Regions from separate parts of the Homo sapiens genome. Here regions 2 and 3 are each linked to region 1. Evidence: promoter capture Hi-C in 16 types of primary human blood cells and fetal thymus (Javierre and others, 2016). All regions are on one chromosome and are shown on one strand. Each heading gives the region's core, a stretch centred on a gene start or on the middle of the fragment in contact. The rest is flanking DNA. Distances are from core to core; before and after follow the strand shown.

Region 1 (3,596 bases), core at 480-2,979:
CAAACCTGAAAAAGAGGAAAACAGAAAATCCTTTAAACGCTTTTAAGTTTGGGGTTATTCATTATGACTAAATACACTATTATCTATTAAATAAAGTGTTACTACTGCCAGTCACAAATTTTATAATAAAGTATTTTAAAACATAAAAATAAAAAGGAAAGCAATTACCTTTGTACAATAAAGCATCCAAAGTTCAAAGAGCCTCTCTCTGGATGCCATTCTGGCTTTCACTCTGGCACTTTAAGTTTTCCTTAAAAAAATTATGTTCAAGACTACAGCATGTCCATTTTATTTTCCAAGTTTTTCAGCCGTTCAGTAAAGCTCATAGCAGTAAAGAAAGCAAAAAGAAGTGAAACAAATGGACTGTCCTCTGGTTAAAAACAAAAAGGCAATTTCAGCAGTCACTCCAATATATCTTCATCAGTGGTAGTTGGGCAATTAAATAAATCTGTGAAAGAGAAAAACATCCACAGGTTAGAAAAAGAGGCCATACTAAAAAATCTAGACTTATCAAAAACTAAAGATGTATCTTCTTCACTTCCCACAAACAACCCGCTATACTTTCACATGGACTGATTAGATTTCATAGAAACTTGTGTTTCAGGAAAACATCACAGCTAACACAGTATGTCCACCATAGAATCCTCTAGGGCAGACAGACTCCTAGAGATGGGTACATGTTCATAACCAAGAATGCGTCCAGTGAGAATAAGGAGCAAGACTCCCTTCCCACTCATACCTTTTGTACAGATACAAGGAAAAGGCCCACATCTCAGACATTTCAAATACATCAAAGCTCTTAGAATGTTCTTGTTCTGGTCTCCTCTTCAAAGTTGTTGGGGCCAGGCGCGGTGGCTCACGCCTGTAATCCCAGCACTTTGGGAGGCCCAAGTGCGTGAATCACCTGAGGTCAGGAGTTCGAGACCAGCCTGGCCAACACAGTGAACCCCTGTCTCTACTAAAGAAATACAAAAAATTAGCCGGGCGTGGTGGCGGGCACCTGTAATCCCAGCTACTCAGGAGGCTGAGGCAGGAGAATTGCTTGAACCCGGGAGGCAGAGGCTGCAGTGAGCCCAGATCACGCCACTGCACTCCAGTCTGGGCGACAGAGCAAGACTCCGTCTGGGGTGGGGTGGGGGTGGAGTAGTTGGGACTGTTTGCTGTGTTGCAGGGCAGGGCGTGGGGGCGGGGGAGGAATTCCCAGTTCGTTTGTTCTAACAATCCTCGGAGAGTGGAAGTCCACCCGCCCACCTGGCCTCTCCACCTTTCCATCCAAGAGAAGTGGGCACGCACACACCGGCGAGGAACTTCCCAAAGAAGCATCCAAGTGTTTGGGGGAATCTTTTAATTTCCTCCTCACATCCCAAGACAACCCAAACAGAGGCAAACTTAAGGTGTGCCGAGCTGCCAAGAGAAGCTCTAGAACTGAGGAATGCGGACTCGGCGTCTCCCGACCGCGATCCCAGCCTGCACTACAGTATCGGAACACTCCCTGACAGCCTAGCCCACTCAAAGCCGCCCCTCACTCTGCAGCCCCTCCACCACCAAGCACCGGGGCCCTCCCATTTCTTGCCATGCCGCCCCCTCTTCCCAACGGCCCGCTCCCCATCACCGGGCTCACATTGTGTGCCGCGCGGCAGCCGCCGCCCGGCAGCCGTCTAACTGCTTCCCTCGACCCCTTCCCAAGGCGAAGCCCCGTGTCACCCCGCAGCCAGGCAGACGAGCGGGCGGGACATGGGGGCGGGGCGAGAGGCCGGGAGGAGCAGGGGGCGGGGCTGCCCCCTGGGCTAATCATTTCGGCCGCTGAGGATTTACCCAGCCGTTGGGCGGCAGCTGTTCAATGGTCGCGTAGGCTGGGGATGGGCGGGGTGACCTGAAGCCCCGCCCCAGCATACCTGCGCAGCCGCAGTCGACAGGCTCTGGCTGCCCATCCCTTGGCGGGCGCCGGCCGCGGCACTGAAACGAGCCTTCCCTCAGCTGGACATGGAGGAGGGCTGACGTGCTGACGTCTACGCCCGCCCCGCTTTTCGCTGATGGCGTCATTTCCGTGAGTCATCTGAGGGCGTGAGACCCTACGGTGTTAAAGGGGATTTTGTTTCACTTATTTGTAGAACCGGGATTGGTTCTGGGAATTTAGAGTAATGTAAAAAGACAAAACACACACAGACACCCCCCAAAAACTCCTCTTTTCCTTTTGTGCCTGCTTTCGTCGTCACCGAGTGTCATATCCAAAGGGCTTATTTTACCACCACTAAAGACTTCGAAAGGGTTTTTCTTTTTCAGAAAAGAAGCAAAAGGCTTTACTAACTATAGACAACTTTCAGAGAGATTTGGTTTTTGTATAAGGAAAGAAAAACGCGTAAGATAACTCACCTTTGTTAAACATTTCCACAACTTTTTATTGTGAAAGATTTCAAGTATATTCTAAAGTAAACTAGTATAACGAAACCCTGTATACCGTCACCCAACTTCAAAAATGATCAACTAATGTCCCATCTTGTTTCATTTGTAACAAGGATCCACAAATTGCCTGTGAAGAGCCAGAGACGAGGCGCAGTGGCTATCGCCTGTAATTCCAGAATTTTGGGAGGTCTAGGCGGGCGAATCCCTTGAACCCAGGAGATCAGCCTGGGCAACAGAATGAGACCCTGTCTCTGCAAAAGAAATTTTAATTAGCTTGGCGTGGTGGTGCACGCCTGTAGTTCCAGCTACTTAGAAGCTAAGGTGGGAGAATCGCTTGAACCTGGGAGTGAAGGTTGCAGTGAGCTCCGATGGCGCCACTGTACTCCAGCCTGGGCGACAGAGCGAGACACTGTCTCAAAAAATAAAAATAAAATAAAAAGAGCCAGACAATAAATGTTATAGGCTTTGCAGTCCATTCTGGTTGCAACTTGCTTAACGAAAATCAAAAGAACAATATTTTGAGATGTGAAAATTAGACGAAATTCAAATTCAAGTTTCAGTGTCCTAAAATTTTAGTGGAACACAACCATGCCCATTCCTTTAGTATTGCCTATAGCTGCTTTCACTCTACCATGGCAGAATTGAGAGTAGTTGCTTGCAAATTACACCTTCAATTTTTTATCCTGAAATTACATTTTACATTCAGCATTTCTCCTTGGTTGTCCATTAGGCATGTGAAATTTATATGTCAAAATTTTGGGGGGAAAATATGCTTTTCCTTTGGGATACCCTATTTTAGTACTTAGCAACTCTATTCTTGTACTTGCTCAGTACAAGAACCTAGGAAGTGTGCTTGCTGTCTTCCTCATGTACTTCACTTCCAATCTAATCTTTTCAGCTATATCTCCAAAATATACCTAACCATCTCTCCACACTTTCTTCCTTAAATGGATGGTGGTATAGTAGTAGTAACCACTATCTTTATTTCTTTTCCCTTTTTTTTTTTTAAATTAGAGGCAGGGGCTTCGTATGTCGCCCAGGCTGGTCTCGAACTCCTTGGCTCAAGGGAGCCTCCTGCCTCGGCCTTCTGAAGTGCTGGGACTCCAGGCGTCAGCCATTGCACCTAGCCGTGGCTACTGTCTTTAAAATGGTTTAAGTTATACAAAATACTTTCTAGTTTATTGTAATAGCCT
Region 2 (3,596 bases), core at 353-2,852, 850 kb before region 1:
TTCCTTCCCTAACCCTCACCTCTGCCTATCAGAGATGCCCTCTGAGCATCCTTAGCACTGTGATAACTCCATTGCAGTAGTTCATTACTTTCTGCTCTGTATTAAAGTTATTTGTGAGCTAATCATATCTCCTCACTCTTTTACTTGTGGTTCATGAACTCCTGTGAGCAGTGATTATAGCCCACCCAAGTGAGCACTCAATAATCTTTATTGTATTGACTCTAAGCTTAAGAAATCCTAAATGTCCTGCCCTCTCCCCAAGCAAGCTCACACTCATCACCACTAAATGCGGTCACACTCAACTTTCCAGTATTGGGAGGGTCCTGTTACTGGTTGAGATAAATTTACTTTAGGAAATTTAAATACTTCTAAGAGTGTTTATTTAATCTTTACATATTTAAAACATGTAAAAATAAGAAAACATATATGAATATTTCTTCTCCAGTAAAAATTAAATCATCAAATATCTTTTGAGTACCTACTTCATACAAACTACATGGTTTCTTAACCAAGAAGGTCTAGAGAGAGATAAGGTTGAGATTCAATGGATATACTCATCATTTTAAGCCGTGTAACAAACCTGGTGTCAGTCTCTGAAGAGCTGAAAACTGAGGATCTGCATCTGAAACCCACACGTAGGTCAGGCAACAATTAAGTATTGTATGCCAAACAGACTGGTGGCTTTCTTTCTTTCCTTTTCCTTGTCTTTTTTTTTTGGCAATTTCAAACTTTTATTTTTAAATAATTGGCTAATTAGCTAGTAGAATTGATTAAGAGAACCTTAAAACCTTGAATTAAGTAAAGAAGGCATTCTTCCCACAATTTCCCTACATTTTAAACAAGCTGGCTAATTCATTTATAAAGTATATGAATCCGAGGACCTTAAAACCTTGAATTGTATAGCAAAAAAACTCTTCCCAGGATTTGCTTAAGTCAATTTTTTTTAAAGGAACTTGTGAGCTCATCCTGAAACCCAGCTCAAATGTATTCAGGACTATGGCTATCCTTTCCCTCTTAAATCACTTCCAGTCTCATAGAAGGGTCTGAAATTGCCTGTGTCTCTCTACTAAACCAACTCACATGCATTCATGAAGCCCCTACTAAATACCTGGCGCTCTGTTCTGAGCTATCTCTTTGCCTTATTTGCTGCCGCCCAACTGCTCCCTGCTGGCCCTGGAATACAGAGCCAGCCAAGCCAGATTGGAGTTTTACCTTTAACTTCTGGCTTTGCTATAAATCACTGCCTTTGACTGCTGAAACAAATGAAACCCAGGTAGGAGAAACACCTCCTCCATCTTCATGCTCCAAAAGTCTCACTCACCTTTGCAGAAGACAGGGATGAAGAGAAGAAAAAACAGGAGAGTGCAGGGCCAGGTCCTGGTAGCCAGGTTCAGCTGAGCCTTGTGCCGCTGAAATCCAAGGCAAGCCATGGCTTTATGGGAGCGGTGTTCAGGTCTTCAGGAAGTAGAGCAAAACCTTTCAGGATCCTGAAGCTTTGAAATGTGTTTGAACCCACACAGAATCAAGGACTTTATATAGATAGCTTTGATCCCAGATATGTATTACACATGTGCACACACAGAAGGCACTTGAATAGAAAGCCTTTTTGTTTTGGTTTTACGAGAAAGGAAGCCGTGGGTTTAGCTGTTACGTCGAAAAGACAACCTCAAGCACTCAACTGAACAAAACAAGCCAATCCATGGATGGAAAATGTATTCAATTTGAAACTGAAGCTTCATGTTCACTTTGAGGATCTGGATAACTAAGTGGAGACTTGGAGAATTTCCTGGAGTACAAGGGTCCTCCTAAATCCCAATTTTATTCAATCTTCTGGGCATCCTTAACCATCCAGTCCAATTCATTTCATTGACAACTCCAAAACTACTAGGCTGCTAACTTTCTGAGCCCTTGGGCTAATGGCAGGATTTGTCTAGGCATCATTAATAAAAACTGTATTCTATCTGTGAAGCACCATCCTTCTAATGGTCCCTTGACAGCTTTACAAATAAGTTTATTTCTCCTAAATCCATTTAGCATTTGGTTAAGAGAAAAAAACTAAAATCACAAGAAATAAACTGAAAATAGGCGGAAAAGAAGCTGCCTCTGGTTTTGCAGAAGGAAAGAATTCAGGTGTTCTTAAAAGCCTTAACTCAACAGAGACAAAACAGAGTTGAAGAAGGTCCAAAGAAAAGCCAACCCAAATGATTCAAGAGATTAGAGCCGTCCATAAAAGGATAGACTTTTTTTTCTAATACAAATTTTTCAAGCAGAAAATTCAAAAGTGAAGATTAAATATAACCAGAGTCCTTAAATTTGTGACAGCTGTAGACAGGACCAATGATCTAACAAAAAGAATTTGAAACATTGAGGACCTTCCTTAAATCTGGAGAGTTTTCATACATTTTAATAAAGAAAGAAACATTCATGGGGAACCTGTAATATGCCCGGAATTCTGTGCACTTAGGATTGAATGATGACAAAACAAAAACATAGTTGATACCTTAAGGGGCTTCTAGAAGGCTGACATGCAAACAGACAGTTGTAACAGGGAATATGACATTTGCCTACTCCAGTCCGTCCATGGTTTCCCATTGTCCACACCTCAGCACAGCAGAGGAGACTCTGCAGAATACTCACCAAATGCCTCCCTCTTTGGCCTGTACCCCAGCATTCCCTCCCATTCCCCCTTCCTGCATTTGTCTTTCCTTCCACGTGCCTCTTTCAGGCCTCATCACCTTTACCCATGCTGTTCCTACTGCCTTTTTTCTCCTATTATCTTATTTTATACTCCTTCTCATCCTCCAGGACTTAGCTCAGCTGTCATCTCCTCCAGGAAGCCTCTTCTTTTTTTTTTTAAAATTTTATTATTATTATACTTTAAGTTTTAGGGTACATGTGCACAACATGCAGATTTGTTACATATGTATACATGTGCCATGTTGGTGTGATGCACAGAAGCCTTTTCTGACCTGCCTGTTTTCTATACACTGCTACACATTATAGAAACCTTCAAGCCCCAGCTCAAGCGCCAACAAGCAATAACAACCTAATGGGCACTTCCTAATGCCAGACTGGGCAACAGAGGTTTTTTAAAAAGTGAAAAACAAATGTTCCTGCCCTCAAGAGGAACACACAGCAGTGGCAGGGACAGACAGCTAAACCCATGATCATGATAGAGTGAGATCAATGCTGGAATTGAAGTATTATGTAGAGGAGCAGAAGCCAGTGGTTCAGCCTGTGGAAGTCAGAAAGGGCTTCTCAGAAGACGAAAAGCCTGAACTTATTATTGAGAACAGAGAAAAGGGTGGATATTCAGACAAGAAGAATAACATGGGCTAAAGTTGGAAACGGCATGAAGAGTTCATTATGGTCACAGGACAAAGCTTGTCTGGGGATGAGCAGAAGGTGCAAGCGGATGCTCTTAGCAGCAAGGGCCAATGAAACATAAGGAGCAAACTGGTATGACTGAGTTCACATTTGGGGGAAATTTTAGGGATGGGGAGGATGGGTTCAGGGAGAAATGTAACCAGGAAGACTGGGAAGAAGACTATTGGAATACGCCAGGCACCAGGATTTGGAAAGCTTTCTGAAGGGGG
Region 3 (3,596 bases), core at 1-2,500, 640 kb after region 1:
GGGACGTGCCGGCCGGAGCTACTCACCAGCCGCAGTGCTGACCAGCAGGATGGTCCATGGTAGCCAGGGCACCCGCCAGGGCCGCTGCAGCGAGGAAGTCATCCCTGGGCCAGCCAAGAATCAGGAGGGCAAAGAAAAGAAATATGGGAAGTAGACCGGCGGAGAAACAGCCGGGAGGCTCGTCTTCTCTCCCGTGGACTGATCCTGCCCGTATCACAATACAGTTTGAAAGGACAAATGGCTGATGAGAGGACCTAGCTGCAGAGCTTTCATGCCGCTGCAGAAATTCCCTTCATTTCTCTCCCTCGCGGCTGGGGGGGTTCCTTCGCCTCGGACGGGGTGCCGCGGCCCTCCAAACGGAAGGCATGTCTGTGGGGAAAGCAGGGAGCCAAGAAGAAATCCCCCAAATTATTTCCCTCGTAGTTTCACGATATCAAAAAAATATCCAGGTCTGGGAGAAAACATATCCAGGGTGCGGAGGGCGGGGATTCGATCCGGGGTCGGGGGGCGAGGGTCAGAACTAGTTCCCGACTGCCGGGAAGGACGAAGCCGGACGGGCGGCGGCGGCGCCCGGCAGCCCTAGTCGCATCGCCCGCGGCTCCGGGAAGGCAGGATTCCTTAAGTTTCGCTTCGGTGCTTCCTTCACTCTGATTTCGAAAACAACAAATCCTCTTCCTTGACTGGATCAAAAAAGGTGCCTGCCTCCATGGACAAGCTCACAGTCCCCACGCCTTCGCAGAACAACCGTGAGAGGGTTGGGGAGGCCCTGGCGAAGGCTGAGGAGAGGTAGGAGCGGGGGAGGGGAGGGGTCGCGGTCGCGGCCCCGGTCCGGGCTCCCCGAGACGGCAGGCGGAGTGGGTGTGAGAGGCTGCCCCTTCTAGTCCTCCCGGCGGCGCTCCCTTCCCTTCCTCGCTTTTTATTCCTGCGGCTCGATCTTGCCTGAGGTAAATTCCACCAAGAAAGCCTCCTCTTCTCCCGTCAATGGCTCCTGTGAGCGAATCACAACCCCCCGAGGAAGCCGCTGCTGCTGCCGCCGCCGCCGCCGCCGCCGCCGCCGCCGCCGCCTCGTTCTCCCGCAGCTCTGGGCTCCTGACGGAACTCGGGCGTCGCGGACCGAGGGCGGGGGGCGGCGGGAGGGCGGATGAAGGTAGCCGGGGAAGGGGGTGGGCAGGGAGGCGGCGAGACACCCTGCGTCCCTCCGGGAGGCACTTCCAGTGGCTCCGAGCAGACCAGACACAAAGGGGGGAGTCGCCGCAGCTGCCAGTCTGCGGCGCTCCCGGTCACCGGAGTCGCCCCGCCTCCGCCGCCGCCTCCGCCTCCTCCTCAGTCTCCGGCTCTTCCCGGCCCTGTCTGTCTCTAGCCTGTGGTGCAGAGCGGGCGGCGGCGGCGGCGGCGCCGGCGGCGGGATGAAGCCCGCACTGCGCCTGCGCGCTCACGGCCCCGCCCGGCCCCGCCCCTCGTTCGGGGCTGGCTGAGGGCTCCGAGGCCCCACCGCAGCGCGTCTCTCCGGTGAATGGCCGAGGGCTGGGTGGGGCTGCGGTGGGCAGCGGTGGCCTTTCTCCTTCACACACATACACATGCCTTCCAAATGTGCATGGCTTGGGATTCGCGTATTTGTTTAAGAGACGACGGCCACATCCTTTTGTTCGGCGTTCAGCAGACTCCTCCGAGTTCCGGGATTTCTCCCGACTGAGGCGTCTCCGTCTCAGTACTCTCGGAGGAAAGCCTCGAGGGGCAGAACTGCCCTCTGTTGTTTCACGGGGCTGGAACCTCCCTCTCCGCAGCCCAAAGAATCCGGATGGACCCGCCTTTCCCAGAACCGGAGACCTTGGCCTCCTCAGGCTCCCCTCTGACTCAAACAAAAGCCGGAATTGGAAAGACCACCCCTTTGATGTGTTCGCTGTAATCGACGTCCTGCTTTCCTCAACCGCCCATTCCCTTAGCCTTCTTAGTTGACAGGAATATTGAGTATTTGCAAGGATGCGAAGCCAGAAAAAAAAAAAAGACTTTTAATTCTATAAATCGTCCCGCTGCGTGCGCGCGTCTGTCCGTACAGCGCGGTGCCCACCCCGAGAGAGGGCCTGGATTCACCAAGGCTGGGGGCCTTGAGGGCTTTTTAGGGCACGTGAAAGGAAAATGGAGTTAGAGTTGTGTCGGGATAGAGAGTGGGATCATTTTGCACTCAAGGAATTGAGAAGATCCCGTTGGTACCGCAGTTTCCAAGGATTTGTGTAGTGCGTTTTTTGGATCTGGTTTGTACAAGCGACCAGTATAGGAGACGGGATCCCTCCCGCCCTTACACCCCGCTGCGGGGTCAGCCGACGTGGGTGGGATTTTGCTGGCGGCGAGGGGAGAAGGTGACGTGCGTGGCGCCATGATCGGAAGTCTGGACTGAATTCTTAGCTGCGAGGTGGAAAATGCGCGTGGGAGGGCGATCTTGAGGGGTGAAGTCTGGCCTTCCCATCTCCTACCAGGCAGGAGGGTTATGCTGAAGGCTGGTTTTGCTGGTCTTTCATTGTGGCTAAGGGCAGTTCCACAGATACAGTCATAGATAGACTCCTTAAGTCATGCTCTGCTTGCTTCTTCTAGTCCGCTGTTACCTCTTTATCTGAATTTGATGTAAATAAATCTCCACATTCCTTAAACTGGTTCTGTTATACTAAACATCTTCCATAATTAGGGGTTGTAGCAATACCAACCCCGGATTCTAAGACTCTTTTTAGTTGAAATATGTTTATGCTGTTTACCCTTTAGACAGAGAAAAAAAAATTCTACCTAGTAAAATCCCTTAAAAAGACGAAGAGCATATGCTTTGATTCATTAGCTTTATTTATTTAGGTTTTATTTATTTATTTATTTATTTATTGAGGCGGAGTCTTGCTCTGTCGACCAGGCTGCGGTGCAGTGGCGCGATCTCGACTCACTGCAACCTCCACCTCCCAGGTTCAAGCAATTCTCCGGCCTGAACCTCCCGAGTAGCTGAGATTACAGGCGGCGCCATCACGCCCGGCTAATTTTTGTATTTTTAGTGGAGACAGGGTTTCACCATGTTTGCCAGGCTGGTCTCGAACTCCTGACCTCACGTGATCCGCCCGTCTCGACCTCCCAAAGTGCTGGGATTACAGACGTGAGCCACCGCCCCCGACCGATTCTTTATAGCTTTATTACTGTATTTTGTTTTGCCCAAAAGGTCTAAATTAGAAACGGTATTGTTTTACCATTTGTCTTTCAAGAACTGAGAGTTTCTAGCACTCAGAGAAATTGGATTTTAGTATGTTAGAGGTGCAGAAAGTTTAAAGTTTATTAATTCGTAGTACACTTTTATCTTCCTCAAATTGAGATCAAGTACTTCATCATTCAATTTTTATTTGCTTAAGATTTTTTCCAAGAAACATTAAGTGTCCTTTTTGTAGTTCCCCCTTATCCACCGTTTCAGTTACCTGCAGTCAACCACGGTCTGAAAATATTACATGGAAAGTTCCAGAAATAATAAGTGGTGTTTTTTTTTGTTGTTGTTGTTTTTGTTTTTTTTGAGACGTAGTTTCTCTTTTGTTGCCCAAGCTGGAGCACAATGGCACGATCTCAGCTCACAGCAA

Evidence for each region. Contacts are between HindIII fragments. The CHiCAGO score rates a contact against its expected background, and 5 or more counts as called.
Region 2: the fragment with the promoter of CTLA4 here is called in contact with the fragment with the promoter of NBEAL1 in region 1 in 4 of 17 cell types (fetal thymus, naive CD8 T cells, total CD8 T cells and 1 more); the score reaches 9.3 in fetal thymus.
Region 3: the fragment with the promoter of BMPR2 here is called in contact with the fragment with the promoter of NBEAL1 in region 1 in 2 of 17 cell types (total B cells and neutrophils); the score reaches 5.9 in total B cells.

What each region holds. Positions count from the first base shown.
Region 1 is chr2:203,013,008-203,016,603 of GRCh38, reverse strand. NBEAL1 (neurobeachin like 1) reads right to left here and starts at 1,729. Exons shown (of 56, transcript NM_001378026.1): 1 at 1,622-1,729; 2 at 169-448. The coding sequence starts at 219. RefSeq lists a silencer at 1,628-1,857 and an enhancer at 1,496-2,049. The HindIII fragment of the contact is 7,356 bases long and covers 1-3,596 here.
Region 2 is chr2:203,865,777-203,869,372 of GRCh38, reverse strand. CTLA4 (cytotoxic T-lymphocyte associated protein 4) reads right to left here and starts at 1,602. Exons shown (of 4, transcript NM_005214.5): 1 at 1,322-1,602. The coding sequence starts at 1,430. The HindIII fragment of the contact is 240 bases long and covers 1,496-1,735 here.
Region 3 is chr2:202,373,981-202,377,576 of GRCh38, reverse strand. It overlaps BMPR2 (bone morphogenetic protein receptor type 2), which reads right to left and starts at 1,250. Exons shown (of 13, transcript NM_001204.7): 1 at 27-1,250. The coding sequence starts at 102. RefSeq lists enhancers at 1-688, 1,843-2,132, 2,243-2,402 and silencers at 743-802, 873-932, 1,063-1,552, 1,703-1,752. The HindIII fragment of the contact is 13,398 bases long and covers 1-3,596 here.